Linked DNA regions of Homo sapiens: regions 2 and 3 are each linked to region 1. Evidence: promoter capture Hi-C in 16 types of primary human blood cells and fetal thymus (Javierre and others, 2016). All regions are on one chromosome and are shown on one strand. Each heading gives the region's core, a stretch centred on a gene start or on the middle of the fragment in contact. The rest is flanking DNA. Distances are from core to core; before and after follow the strand shown.

What was found. Contacts are between HindIII fragments. The CHiCAGO score rates a contact against its expected background, and 5 or more counts as called.
Region 2: a fragment that was not itself captured here is called in contact with the fragment with the promoter of CDH24 in region 1 in 2 of 17 cell types (total B cells and naive B cells); the score reaches 6.5 in total B cells.
Region 3: a fragment that was not itself captured here is called in contact with the fragment with the promoter of CDH24 in region 1 in 1 of 17 cell types (neutrophils); the score reaches 5.4 in neutrophils.

Annotation. Positions count from the first base shown.
Region 1 is chr14:23,056,037-23,059,124 of GRCh38, forward strand. It overlaps CDH24 (cadherin 24), which reads right to left and starts at 1,484. Exons shown (of 13, transcript NM_144985.4): 1 at 1,367-1,484. ACIN1 (apoptotic chromatin condensation inducer 1) reads right to left here. Exons shown (of 19, transcript NM_001386863.1): 19 at 2,528-3,088. It overlaps LOC105370705 (collagen alpha-2(I) chain-like), which reads left to right and starts at 1,624. Exons shown (of 2, transcript NR_169511.1): 1 at 1,624-2,006; 2 at 2,249-2,613. RefSeq lists silencers at 1,364-1,483, 1,564-1,713. The HindIII fragment of the contact is 16,339 bases long and covers 1-3,088 here.
Region 2 is chr14:22,382,743-22,385,830 of GRCh38, forward strand. All of the region lies in intron 2 of TRD-AS1 (TRD antisense RNA 1), which reads right to left. It also overlaps TRA. Among named protein-coding and RNA genes, the nearest start is that of TRD-AS1, 99 kb to the right of the region's middle. RefSeq lists an enhancer at 912-1,621. The HindIII fragment of the contact is 2,799 bases long and covers 26-2,824 here.
Region 3 is chr14:22,541,786-22,544,873 of GRCh38, forward strand. It overlaps TRA, TRAJ4, TRAJ3 and TRAJ2. Among named protein-coding and RNA genes, the nearest start is that of LINC02332, 14 kb to the right of the region's middle. The HindIII fragment of the contact is 3,702 bases long and covers 1-3,088 here.

The DNA of each region.
Region 1 (3,088 bases), core at 234-2,733:
AGCCCTCCAAGCTGATAAATCTCTGGTCAGTCAACTCTGAGTAGAGAACTGGGGAGGAACACAGGAGAGGGGATGCTGGGAGGGCTTGGAATCCCAAATCTGGTCTCTGTCCTCCCAGGTTGGGCACGTAGCCAGGTATTGGAGGAGGCGGGGCTACCAGAGAAAGGGCTTAAAATTACGGAGTTGGGATTCATGGAGGTGTGGCCTTAAGGTGTCTAGGGTCAGCATGAGATGACAAGGAGTGCAGCCTCAGGCAGGGCTGAGAGTCTGTGAAAGTCCCTCCCCACAAGGGGGAGCCCCACTCTCCAGGCCCTGTCTCCAGCCCACGCTGCCAGTGCAGTCCTTGAAGGGGGACTGGGCTCGTGAGACAGGAGTTGGGAGCCAGAGCTGAAGGAAGAGGATACAGGGTGGGGGACAGGGGGAGGTGACCGGGGAGAGAGGTCCACCCAGAGGCTAGAGACAGATAATGACTGACGGCTAGACTGACTCAGGGACTGTCCGGCAGAGAAATGACTGGATGAGAGACAGAAACAGAACAGTGGCAAGAGACAGAATGAGAGAGACCAGGGCAGCAGCCTGGGTGTCTGAAGGCAGAGAGGAGTCCTAGGGGCCAGGCTTGGAAACGGGTCACCGGGGGCAGTTCCGGGCAGGCAGGGGCAGACCTCAGCTTCGGGGGTGTCAAGCCAGGCCTCGGGAACTTAATTCTGGGAGAAGGAGCAGACAGGAGGGGTGGAGGCAGGGAGGGGCCACGGGAAGGGAGCTAGAGAGGAGACCCTTCCCACTGCTCTCCTTTCTCCTAGGGGCGGGGGGGAGGACCCCTCAGGTAGCTGTGGCTTCTGCCCCTCCTCCCTCAGAGCAGACACACACCTGACAGTCCCTTTGCTCCCGAGGGAAGGGGGAAACCGGAGGAAGGCTGGGGACCAGAGAGAAGGCGGGATGAGGAGGCGAGAAGGAAGGGGATAGAGGAGTGGGAAACAGGATAGCAGGAAGGGGAGAGGAGAGGGAGGGAAAGGAGAGCAAGAAAGAGAAAAGAGAAAGGCAGGAAAGGGGAGAAAGGTAGAGAAAGAAAAAGGCAAAGAGGGAGAGGAGATGGAAAAAGGACAAGAGGGAGAGGGAAGGGTTGGGGAGACAGAGGGAAGGGATAAGGAAGGCAAACAGGCAGAGAAGGAAGGGTGAAGAGAAATCGAGAGAAGAAAGAGGGAGAGAGGTGCGAGGGGAGAAGGGAAAGAGGCAGAGCGCGGGAGAAGGGAGCCGGCAGCGGGCTCCCAGCCACGGAGCGCACCCCTCCGAAGACCCCCGCAGGCTGCGGGCCCCCTCCTACCCCTCCGCGGATTCCCGACCCCTGCTCCGGGGCAGGCGCCCTTACCTGGCACTGCCGAGGGGCCCAGGCCGGCGGGAAGCGCCCCCGCCCGCCCCCGTCGCCGGGTCCCGGGGGCACAGCCCCGAGCCGATTGGAGCGGGCGCCGCGGCTCCGCTGCAGGTCTGAGCGGCCCCGGCGAGAACAAGGGAGCGAGACGGAGGGGGCGGGGGAAGAAGACTCCGCCTGCGGAGGAGCGAGGCGGCTCCGCGCCGCGCGGGAGAGGAGAGCCCAGCCTCCGACCCTCCCCGGCCAGCCGGGCCCGCGCGGCGGGGGCGGGGGCGGAGGCGGCGCCGCGCGTCCGCCCCCTCGGCGCTCCTGGGCTGCGGGGCGCATACAGATGCGGCGCCCCTCCCGGACCGGGCCCGCAGCGCCCGGCAGGGCACTCGGGCGGGAGGACGTCCAGGCCACGGCGCCAGGCCATTTCCGAAGAGCTGGCGGGGCGGGTGCACCCGGGAGCGCGAAGCTGCCAGTCCCCGCCCGCAGCGGAAAACGGGCGAGCGCGCGGTGAGGTGGGGAATTCGGAGCCCACTGCGGAGAGACCCGGCTCCGGGCTCCCGGTTCCCGGCTGGCTTTTGGGACTGGTGTGGATGGAATCCCAGCTGCAAGGCGGCGGCGTTTTGAGAGCCCATGCAAAGCACGGTAGCAGGTCAGCTGGGGGACACTTAAGGACGGCAGAAGGGTCCAGAGAGTCCGAGGCCCGGGCCCAGGGAGCGGGTCGGGAACAGAGGCACGACATCGGCGGGAGGTCGGAGGCGGGCAGTGGAACCCTTCTTGGGAAGCTCGGTTACAGGGGCCAACAGAGCGAGGAGCTGCCGCCCCCTGGTGGTAGTTGTGGGAGGCACCAAGGTGGCAGGCAGGTGACCAAACCCCTAATTTAACCGTGCACAGGACCAGGAACCAGAAGAGGACCCACCCTCCTAGCCCTGCTGGGGTGCCGCCACGGACACAGGTTGCTCCATGCCTTCCCGAATGAGGAAGGTCCACAGCTTTGGGTTGGTCAGGGCCAAGGCAGGGGATAAAAGACGTGGGAAGTTCAATAAGCAGGAAGCAGTCAGCCTAAAGGAACACATGGAATGAGAGCAACTCCTACTCCAGATATCCTCAGATGTCCACGCTCAGATATCCACAGTGGCTTCTTAACCTGCCCAAAGAAAGCCACTCACACAGTTTAAAACTAAGTCAGATTTTTATTTTTTTTTCCATAGACCACATCATTTAATAATAAAAAAAATAAAAATAAAAATTGAACAAAAGGAAAAGGTGGATATAAAGTGGAACCTGTGGGAAAGAGGCAAGGGCTGCAGGACAGAAGAGACTGGGAACTGCAGGGGCCCTGGGACTCAGGAGGAGATGCTGATTCAGCTCATAGGTGACCCAGTCCTGGCCCCGGCTGTTCCCAAGAGAAGGCTGTAAGTACCCAGGGAGGTGGTAAGCAGGATGGAGGAAAAATCAGAGGACTGGGGCACCTGGCTGTTCCCCATCTCTGGCCAACCACCTCCTTGCCTAACCTAGCTCTTGCCTCTCAGACTTAATGGGAAATGAGAGGGAGGGTCGGGCTAAGTCCCAAGAGATAGGTTAAGGGGGTGTGTTTGGGGGGAAAAGGATGGCCACTTTTCCATTTGGTATGTATGTAGGGATAGGTGATGTGAAAGACCCTTGGCTCCAGGGTGGTGGAGACTGTGCCTATCCCTCTGTGGCCATAACCCCCTGGGGCCGAGTGGCTGGTAC
Region 2 (3,088 bases), core at 175-2,674, 670 kb before region 1:
AACCACCTTGCTGATTCAGACTGGAAGCTTCAAGAGAGAAGTTTCTTTCCATTTAATGCACTGGGGATGGTGCTCAACAGAGAACCACACTCAAATCGGGGCTAAATAATATGGCAATATCATGGTTACAAAAGAAACACCTCCCTTTCTCACCAAATCACTGAATCCCTTATTCTATAAAAATGAAATTGAACTGCAAACATCACCACCATGACAAGAGGATTTAGGCACACTGATCAACTGATTAAATTCTATTTGTCATCCAGAGTGATCCTGGAGGCCTTCAGAGCCTGGAGGAAACCTCTCTGTGACTCTACTCACATCTTTACACACGGAAAATCCAATTAGGCTGAGTATCTACAGCAGCTTCCAGAAGTAAACTGATTGCAGAAGGGCAGCCTGCTGCCTGAGGACTGCAGGGGACGAGGAAGGGGTGGGCCACCTGGAAGGGACCTCTGCCTTCTCAGCACCTAGAGTTGGTTTCCAGATGATCACATAGTTTAACCCTTTTCTTTTATAGACAAGGAAATTGAGGCCCAGAAAGGTTAACAGTCTTGCCCAAGACCTAAGATTAGAAGGCAGAGTTGGGGTTGAGAATTGCTTATGTGAGACTCAGACCCAAAGCAGACGACCATATTTTCAAATTCAGTGAAAACTGGAAAACTCGTATGGGCCTACCCAGCCTGGAAAATCCCCATGTATTACCAATACATAGTAAACGAATCAAAGATTGAAAAGTTTACTTGAAAACCAATCAGAAGTCCTCTCCCACATGCAAAAATCCCACCCTAATAGAACACTCATCACCCGTCAGACTGTCTTAACACTTCTTCCTTTTTCTTTCTTTGCAAACCCCTTTGAGCCTGTGCCAGAAGTGACGGTGTCTGCCACCCTCTCTGCAGTCAGTCCTGACCAGTTCTCTGGGGTTTACACCTGTCCTCTGGCCACTCGTCTGCTGCACTTCCTGCATCTGCTTGTTTCACCTTGGCCCCAGCTTTACCTGAGGGGTGCTTGGCCTGTGCCTTGAGTTCCAGGGCCTATGTTTACTTCAAAAATATTAATGTCAATTCCTTCAACTTGTTCCAAAGACAACAGAGCCTCTCACAAGCAGGCAAGCCCTGCCACTTGTTACGTAGTTGAGGCTGACGAGCCTGCAGGTCCCAGCCAACTTTATCACCTCCCTCTTCTGAGGGGTGGAAGTCCCCAACATCTCAGGGTCCCCTGAGAGTATGGGGATTCCCACATCGGCAAGTACCTGCTTCAGAGAAGCCCATGAGAAACTGGCCCAGAGCAAGCGGGTCCACCCTCCCATTGTGGGAAAGTGAAGGGCAGAAGGAGTCTGGCTGGAGGTCACTCCTGCCACTGATCTTCCTCACTCGGGTCCAGCCTGTCAGAGGATAAAGCACAGTGGTGGGTGGGGGTATCTGGCTCTCCCCCACCCTCCTTCTCAGGGGTTCAGTAGTCCCTGGGAACAAGATTCAGCTCAGGAATTTCTGGGATGCTGGTCAGTTCTGGCCCTAAGGACACTGGGAGTGACAGCGGGCTGCTAAGGATGTGACAGTGACTGGGCTGTTCCCTTCACATGACTACCAGGGCAAGCCCTGGCCAAATCCCAGCACCTGCTGAAAGTTGAAGCTGACCACTGGAGTGATTAGATTCATGACATGTGGTGGAGGCCTGGGGAGTGGAGCTACTGGGAAAGGACACAGCTAAGGAATCTCCTCCCTCCCAGCATTGCTTGACCCTTTCACAAAGACAGTGGTAGGTAGAGGAAGAAGGAGAATTGGCCTACTCCTTCCTTTTCGCTGTATATGGTCATAGAAATTGTCAGAACTTTATATCTAGATTCAAGTTCTATCTCTAGCACAATTAGCTCTAAAACTTTGCGAACGTTACTTAACCTCCTAGGTCCTCTTTGTTCATAAAACGAGAACGTAATACATACCTTGGTTGGCTGTGAAAGTTATATGAGTCAGTGTTGTGGGGAAGTTGAAGGCATGCAGTAGATGCACAAGGAAAATTAAATTCCGTTCCCCAGTTCCTGGCTTGCAAGTTGGGGGTTAAACTCAGTTAAGCTCAGAGAAGACATGACATGACGGGGGATCAAGGGAGATGTGGGAAGCTCACGGGCTGTGGTTCCCACTGATCCACATTAGACTCCAAATGACAACACCCTCACAATCCCATGAAATTGAGCAGAATTTCTCTTCTTTCTTGTGATGTTTCCAGAAATGAAGAGAGAGGGAAGGAAGACACAGACTCTGATCTTTGGCTTCACTTTGGTTCCAAGACCTGGAGCTGATAGTGTATGGAGGGTTGCCTGTTTGTCCAGGCACTATGAATAAGACCAAGGTAATCCAGCCCAACTCTACGACACAGCTAAGCCAACAAGCAGCTGGATCTTGTGTCTCAGCACTCACAGAAATGTATAAATCATCTGATACCAACTGCTCCCCGGAAGCCTCTGTCTCCAGAATATAAATGTCCAACTACAGGACTGGCAAAGAAACCAAGCCCTGGGCAATGCCTACTATGGACCCTTATTTCTTGTGGTTTGCTAAGAAAAAAGTAGGCCCAAGGGAGAGGAGGGGGAAAACCAGGAGGGTCTAAAGTTCTTCTGACTGAAAGAAAAGACCACATCAGAGAGAAAGAAAGGAATCAGTTAAGTAATAAAAGGTTGTGAGTTGATTTATCATTCAACTAAACAAATTATCTTCCTACACAAACATTCTGAGGATTAAGTGAACAATATAATACTTTTCTGAGCTCTTTTTGATCAAATGCTTTGCTGTTAAAGGTTATATTCCTAGGGAGTTGATACTGAAGCTTCTTGTTCCTTGTCAGTAAACACAAGGAGAGGCCAACCCTCTGTAAATTTAAATTACATAAAACCTTTCCCCAAACTGTCTGGTCTCCTAACAGCCCCTTTTCACTGAACTCTGTGGTTATGGAATGTAAGTATCTTTATCACAGCAGCACAGACTTTTGAAAATTTGACATAATAGAATTTCTTCCTCACAAGGCATATCAAACACCATTGCAAACTAGTGGGATTTTTAATCAAGACTAAAGCAGAGGTCTTTTATTT
Region 3 (3,088 bases), core at 342-2,841, 510 kb before region 1:
AAATTCACATTTGGAATAAGGCATTAAAGTTGCCATTGTTTCTAGTAGGGAAACCCTGCAAAGTGTTGGGGCATCGTAGATCCTGCATGTTGACGCCTGCAACTAATCTGCCCCGGAGCTGTTCCGACAGTGGCTGGAGCATTTGCTGCACAGTTGCATAGGTGTTCAACAATTGCCAAAATAAAATGAAGCTATTTCGTGATGATTAGAAAGAAATAATCAGCATCAATGAGGCCTCTGATGCATCTTCAGGAGTGAGTAGGTGGAATGAAGACCTGGTAGGTGAGACTTTTCTCTCTTGTCAGAGAAAGTTTGACTTGGGGGAGCCTGGAAAACAGGGACAGGAGATGGAGTGCCCCAGCCAGGCATGCCCTGCCCAGGTCAGAGTTCTTGTAAAGCACCATCTGATTGTGTGTTTTCTGGTGGCTACAATAAGCTGATTTTTGGAGCAGGGACCAGGCTGGCTGTACACCCATGTGAGTATGACCCTGCAAGTGACCAGTGCAAAAAGAACTGACCACTTGTCTATGAGAAAACAGGTGATGATCTATAGCAAACTTGGGGATATATTGAGAAGCACTCATTTTCCATTCCTACAAGCTCTCTTGGTGACTTAAAATGTTCCCATTTCTCATATGAAACACAGAAGTGCCAAGAGCCAATTGCGTAAATGAAAATCTGAGCAGAATAATTTATAGAAACATAAAAAGAGTTCCAAATAATGAGTGCTTTCAAGTGAAGCTGATAATATCGGCACCAGATAATCTGAACATTCAGGAAATTAGCTAAGTGCCCTTGGGGGAAAGAGATGAGTTAATGGCAAACACAAATTCTCTTTTATTGCAGCATGTAGCTAAATTCCCTGGATTGGCTAATAAACATGGTATGGGGATCCCTACTCATAGAATCTTCCTCTCTGGAGTTAGGAGAGTTTTCAGCTTCCTCCTAAGGGTAAAAGTGGCCCAGACCCCTAACTGAACGGCAAGTATACCACATGCAATTACAAGGTATAGAGGCAGCAATGTAGAGGGAGGCCCACAGACCTGGGGAAAATCTGGGCTCTACTCTCACTGGCTGTTTTCAATAAAGCCTCCACTTTCTCAGCAGCAAAATGACTATAACTACATCATAATAATATGAGATAATGGCCAGAATGTAAAAAGTGATCAATAAGTAGTAGCTTTTCTAAAATATTATTATAATTATTATTATTGAGGCTTTGCTTATACTAAGGTTTACACTATCATAAAGGGAAAGGAGAATCGCTTCCTTGGGAAATAAAAGATGTAAGCAACAAAGACCCAAGGAGCCTTTTAGAATGTTGCTCTGGGACCCCAGTGGCTTCCAGCAGATTAGCATCAAGAAGGTTATCTCAAAGACCTTACCCACAGTGGGGGTACAGCAGTGCTTCCAAGATAATCTTTGGATCAGGGACCAGACTCAGCATCCGGCCAAGTAAGTAGAATGAAGCAGGAGAGCAAGGGAGGACGGACAACTATTTCTTCTTTGTCCAAAATGCCAACTTGAACCCAGGTATTTTCCTCTGTGGGCTCCAAAATGGTTTCTTCCACCCATCCCCAGAAAATCCTCCCATCCAGCTCTCGGTGCTCTGCAGACATCATCCTTAGGCTGGGACCTTAGGAACCATGAGGCAGGCAATGAGCGAGTACTCCTGAACCTTCCACAAACATATCCAAGATACTGCTGCCTGGAATTGAGGTTTTTGTTCTAGGGAATTATTGGTTTATTGAAATCATATGAAGTCACAACCTCAGCCCAGGGAATCACAGCAGAATGGAACAGGAGGAGAACTTTTGTATCAGAAGCGAAATTTCAGTGCAAAAGAGCAGAAGGTTTAGGCCTGGCGTGGTGGCTCACGCCTGTAATCCTAGCACTTTGGGAGGCCGAGGCAGGGAGATCACAAGGTCAGGAGATCAAGACCATCCTGGCTAACACAGTGAAACCCTATCTCTACTAAAAATACAAAAATTAGCCGGGCGTGATGGCACGCGCCTGTAGTCTCAGCTACTCGGGAGACTGAGGCAGGAGAATTGTTGAACCCGGGAGGCAGAGATTGCAGTGAGCTGAGATCGCATCATTGCACTCCAGCCTGGGCAACAGAGCAAGACTCCTTCTCAAAAAAACAAAAAAAAAAAAAAAAAAGAAGGTCTAACCCTTAGGAGTGTGATTATCCTGTTCTCCTGCCTTGTGGGGGAGATCAGTGTTTCTCTTATTTAAGTAATAGGTAGGTCCTGTGAGTTTGTGCAATGGTGTCACCTACGGTATGAATACTGGAGGAACAATTGATAAACTCACATTTGGGAAAGGGACCCATGTATTCATTATATCTGGTGAGTCATCCCAGGTGGCACCACGTGCAACCCCATGGGCCAGTGTCACTAATCCTTTCTCTGGAGATATCACTTATTACTATGGTGAGGCTTGCTGTAGATGTTGTAACTAATTTTCTTACAGAGGTCTGGGAAGGGAAAAGCATTACTATCTATCTTGAATATTCATGTTTCTCTAGGTCAAACACATTAAAATTTGACTTTAATCATTCAATGGGTATTGTAAAATGCCTTCTATGTGACTATCACTCTATAAAATGTTAGACTGAGTATGAAGTGTGAGATAGATTCCTGTCCTGTCCTCAAGTGGTATAAAAACTAGACAAAGGTACTGAACTATTGTAAATTAAGCAGCCAGAAAACTATTTTAGTATTGACCAGTTGATGATGTCAATGGACACAATAGAGATTCAGAGGGGATAGGGTGCTGGCTGAGAAGTTGGCCTAGACTGAGAAGTTTCCTGTGGTACAAAGGATTCATTGAGCCCTGAAGGATGGATAAGATCTGTATGGGCAGAGAAAGGAGAGAAGGGAAGTTCTGGGCGTAGGGAACGACAAGAAAGAAGGCATGATCTTGGGAATAATCAAGGCACATGCAAAGTAGCCTAAGTATACATCTGATAATAAAATTGGTTGAAAAGTAGTCAGAGAAGATGTCTTTTTAGGCATGGAAAAAGGAAATACTAGAGCATTCAACAGAATACAGAAATTAGGGCCAGGGCCAGCCATTGGGAAAC